Regions from separate parts of the Homo sapiens genome. Here region 2 is linked to region 1. Evidence: promoter capture Hi-C in human tissues and cell types (Jung and others, 2019). All regions are on one chromosome and are shown on one strand. The core of a region is centred on a gene start or on the middle of the fragment in contact, and the rest is flanking DNA. Distances in the headings are between cores, read along the strand shown.

Region 1 (2,512 bases), core at 8-2,507:
GGCATCTCACCTGTCCGTTCTTCATGAGGTCGGCCCACATGCTGGTGCCGTCGCCGCCGCGCATGAGCACGTGGTAAGCGAAGAAGTAGACGCCTGGCATGGGGCAAGTAAACTTGCCGCTGGCTGCCTCGTAGGCGTTGCCCACGTTGGTCACCACGTCGTCGAAGCGCAGCACCTCGTAACCCTCGTGGGGCCGCCGCAGGCCCGCGTAGAAAGCAATGCGAGGCACGTAGCCGGCAGCGGGCGCCACCCCGCCCGGACCTGGACCGGGAGGGCCCGGGGGGCCTGGCCTGCCGGGTTCTCCTGGGGGCCCTCTTGGACCTGGTGGTCCAGGGGGCCCCCGCAGGCCTGCTTTCCCGCGCCGGCCCACCTCTCCCTTGGCGCCTGGCGGGAAGGGGGGCACGGAAGCAGGCGCGCCGTCGGGACCAGGGCCACGGGGCCCATGCGGGTCGCACACCATGCGGCAGCGACCCAGCATCTCGTAGTGCGCTGGCCCGCGGGAGCTGTGCACCAGCAGCGGGATGGCCACCAGCAGCAGCAGCACCATGGCCACTCCGACGGCCGCGCCCGCCACCCTCTTGCGGCGGCTCAGCCGCGACGCTGCCAGGGCCAGCAAATCTTCCTCACTCTTGGGCGCAATGGCTGCCGGGGCCGGGGCTCTCCGCGGGCCAGGAGGCGGTGACCCGCCTTGGGCCTGGGTCTGCACTCCCCCGACGGCTGCCCCCCGCTCCCCTTACCCTGCCTCTGCGGGCTCCAGCCGCGGCGGTGCCGCTCCCCAAGCCGTCCGTCAAGGGGAGGCCCCTCGTGGGTTACGTCAGGGGCAGCTCCCGACGGTCCAGAGCCAGTGGTCCTCTAGTACCCTCCCGTTCAGTCCTAACGATCCTGGGCACCTGAGATCCGCGGCTTCTCGGACGGCTGGTTTCTTAGGGATCTGAGATGCCTGCTCTCCAGACTGCTGCTCTCTCAGGGATGGCGCGGTGCCTGGGTCCCAGACTGCCCAGATAGACCACTCCCTGATGGAGAGGGGACTGCTCCCCGCGCTCCGGACGTCCCGGGCTCTGAGCTGCGGGTGCTGCTCACCGGGCGCGATCTCCTAGTAGGTTTTGCGCTCTGCCTCTTGGCAAGCACCGACTCACCTTGCTACCCCTGCCGCGGCCCCAGTCCCTGCTAGAGCCCTGGCCCGCGCCTCTCTCCTGCGGGCGCGGTCCCTCTCCGCCTCCCTAACCTTCCTCCCCTCCCTCCCGGGCGCGGGTGGTATGAGGCGCCGCGCGGCGGGAGCCACTATAAGCGGCCAGAGGCGGAGCGACCCCTGGTGCCCAGAGTGGGAAGTGCGGGGGCGGGGCAGGCAGCGGCCCCCACCCACGTCCTCCCCGCCTCCCCTCCACTCCCCCACTGCCCCTAGGTTCCTTCCCGGCTCTGAGCGGGTTCTTCAGGGTTTCGCGGCCCCCGCTGTATCTTTACTTTTACCCTTTACCCGGAGTTTGGCATTCTCAGAGGCCAGAGGAAACCCAAAACAGCGATGGGATAAAGAGGGGTCAAGATACAAACACGCAGAGAAGACAGGGGTAGATTCCCGAGCTAAAATGAGGGGGAGGGACCTCACAAACAAACAGAAAACAAAATAAGAAGGGCTAGAAAAGATAGAAATTCACCACCCCACGCACCTCAGCGCCCGTGACCGAATAACATGGTAAAGGATTCAACTGATACTAGTTGGCCTGAACTGGAAAAGGCAAATCTCTAGCCAACCCTACCCCCACCCCTCAGTATTGGGGCGCGGAGCGGAGTGTGTGTGTGTGTGTGTGTGTGTGTGTGTGTGTGTGTGTTTGTGTGGAGAGAGAGAGAGAGAGAGAGAGAGAGAGAAAATAAGAGAACAGATCAGCCCGGGGGAGCAAGCAAGAAACCGACAAGAAAGCAGAGAAGGAGCGACAGAAATCAAAGAGAAGGAAAGCTAGATAGAGATGCAGAGACAGAGACAAAGCTTCGAAAAGAGACGGACTGACAGCCCCAGAGGGGGAGAGGGAGAGACAGAGACAGAGGAAGAGAGACAGAGCCGGGACAGGTTGACAGATCGAGAGAGAAATGTAAATGGCGCGCTGCAGAGAGACACCCAGGTCCGTGTTTGGACTCCAATGTGACATATCAACTGTGGGGAAGATGCGGGGGCAGGGCGGCTCTGCCAGCAGTGCTAGGCTCTGGGCCTGTGCATTGTGACAGTGTGCTCCAAAGTGTGGAGGTGGCCATGGGATCCTGGCCCTGTGTGTCCCTGGGTGAGTGCGATTGTGGATTGTGTGTTGTCTTTGTGTATGTATATGTGAGGGCTGTTTGAAGGGAGGTATTTGTATTTGTCTTCCTCCTAGTCCCTCAATTTGGAGCCCACAAATGCCATTTTTCCTACCTTGGGACTGAGAATGAAGGACTCTACTGGACAGAGAGGAAGTCAGAAGACAGCTGTCTTCTCATTTGCCCTGCCCAGCTCAGCCCAATGCCACCCCTGCCCTGGTCCCAGACT
Region 2 (2,512 bases), core at 8-2,507, 520 kb after region 1:
ACATCCTCACCAGCATGCGTTATTGCCCATCTTTCCGATGAAAGCCATTTTAACTAGGATGAGATGATATCTCATTGTAGTTTTGATTTGCATATCTCTGGTGATCAATGATGTTGAGCACCTTTTCATATACCTGTTTGCCATTGTATGTTTTCTTTTGAGAAATGTCTATTCAGATCTTTTGTCCATTTTTAATTGGATTACTAGATTTTTTTCCTATTGAGGTATTTGAGCTCCTTATATATTCTGGTTATTAATCCCTTGTCAGATGGATCGTCTGCAACTATTTTTTCTCCCATTCTGTGGGTTGTTTCTTCACTTTGTTGATCGTTCCCTTTGCTGTGCAGAAGCTTTTTAACTTGATGTGATCCCATTTGTCCATTTTTGCTTTGGTTGCCTGTGCTTGTGGGGTATTACTCAAGAAATCTTTGCCCAGCCCAATGTGCCGGAGAGTTTCCCCAGTGTTTTCCTTTAGTAGTTTCATAGTTTGAGGTCTTAGATTTAAGACTTCAATCGATTTTGATTTGATTTTTGTATATGTTGAGAGATGGAGGCCTAGTTTCATTCTTCTGCATATGGATATTCAGTTTCCCAGCATCATTTATTGAAGAGAATGTCCATTCCCTAATGTATATTCTAGGCAACTTTGTTGAAAATGAGTTCACTGTAGATGTATGGATTTATTTCTGGGTTTTCTTTTCTGTTCCATTGGTCTATGTATCTGTTTTTATACCAGTACCATGCCGTTTTGGTTACTATAATGGCTCTGTAGTATAATTTGAAGTCAAATAATGTGATTCCTCCAGTTTTGTTTTTTGCTCAGGATAGCTTTGCCTAACTAACATTTTAATATATATCCATCTAGGGTTTTTTCTATTCATAAGTAAACATAAAATGTGTGTGCATATATATATTTTAATCAACATTAAACAAATTAAGTAGTTTTAATATTACTCAAATATTACAACTGTGAGTATAGCCTCCTTTGGAGATGCCACCAGAAGCCTACATTTCGGAACGTTTTTGAGGAAAACAGGCCATTTAGTTTGCAGAATATCCTTCAATTTGTTTTTTTTTGTTGTTGTTGGGTTTTTTTTGAGACAGAGTCTCACTCTGTCGCCCAGGCTGGAGTGCAGTGGCGTGATCTCGGCTCACTGCAACCTCCGCCTCCCAGGTTCAAGCAATTCTCATGTTTCAGCTTTCCGAGTAGCTGGGACTGCAGGCATGTGCCACTATGCCCAGCTAATTTTTGTACTTTCAGTAGAGATGGAGTTTCACCGTGTTGCCCAGGCTGGTCTCGAGCTCCTGACCTCGAGCTTCTGACCTCAAGTGATCCACCTGCCTCAGCCTCCCAAAGTGCTGGTATTACAGGTGTGAGCCGCTGCACCACCCTCAATTTGGTTTTGTCTAATATTTCTTCATGATAAGATTCAGGCTTTGCTTCTTCTTTTCTTTCTTTCTTTTTTTCTTTCTTTCTTTCTTTTTTTTTTTTTTGAAATAGAGTCTCACTCTGTCGCCCAGGCTGGAGTGCAGTGGCATAGACTTGGCTCACTGCAGCCTTCACTGCCTGGGCTCAAGCAATCCTCCTGCCTTGGCCTCCCAAAGTGCTAGGATTACAGATGTGAGACATCCTGCCAGCCGGCTTTGCATTTTTTTGGCAGAAGTGTTATAAAGTATATTTTTGTCCTTCTCAGCACATCATATCAGAAAACACATAGTGTCAATTTGTGCCATTATTTGTGATTCATGATTAAGTTGGAACCTAACAGTTTTCTCTAATGTAGTGTTATCATTTTTTCCTTTGTAACTTTTTTTTTAGACAGGGTCTCGCTCTGCCCAGGCTGGAGTGCAGTGGTATGATCTCGGCTCTCTGCAACCTCTGCCTCCTAGGCTCCAATAATCCTCCCACCTCAGCCTCCCAAGTAGCTAGGACTATAGGCATGTGCTACTCAGCTAATTTGTGTATTTCTAATAGAGACAGAGTTTCACCATGTTGCATAGACTGGTCTTGAATTCCTGGACTCAAGCGATCCACCCACTTCAGTCTTCCAAAGTGCTGGGATTACAGGTGTAAGCCACTGTGCCAGACCTCTCCTTTGTAATTTAAAAGTAATCTGTGAACAAAAAGCAATCTATGCACATGAAAAGATACTAAGCATCACTACTCGTTAGGGAATGCAAACTCAAACCATAATGAGATACCAATTCACATCCACAAATAGGGCTAAAATTTAAAAGACAGACATCAACAAGTTGGCAAGGATGTGGGGAAATTGGAACCCCTCATCCATTGCTGATGGGATATAAAATGGTGCAGCCTCTTCGAAAAACAACTTGGCAGTTCCTCAAAAAGTTAAACATAGGTACATATGACACAGCAATGCTTCTCCTAGGTGTGAAAACACATCCCCACAAAAAGCAGGAATGTTTATGGCAGTATTACTCATATAGACAAAGGTGAAAGCAAATGTCCATCAATTGATGAGTGGATACATAAAATGTGGTCTATTCA

Evidence for each region. The method cuts DNA at HindIII sites, captures the fragments that hold promoters and counts their contacts. A contact is called where the count stands out against the background at its distance.
Region 2: a fragment that was not itself captured here is called in contact with the fragment with the promoter of C1QL4 in region 1 in 1 of the 25 tissues and cell types used here (lymphoblastoid cells).

What each region holds. Positions count from the first base shown.
Region 1 is chr12:49,335,931-49,338,442 of GRCh38, forward strand. It overlaps C1QL4 (complement C1q like 4), which reads right to left and starts at 1,258. Exons shown (of 2, transcript NM_001008223.2): 1 at 11-1,258. The coding sequence starts at 547. RefSeq lists an enhancer at 1-653 and a silencer at 1,022-1,431. The HindIII fragment of the contact is 14,355 bases long and covers 1-2,512 here.
Region 2 is chr12:49,856,700-49,859,211 of GRCh38, forward strand. No RefSeq gene overlaps it. Among named protein-coding and RNA genes, the nearest start is that of BCDIN3D, 15 kb to the left of the region's middle. The HindIII fragment of the contact is 5,384 bases long and covers 1-2,512 here.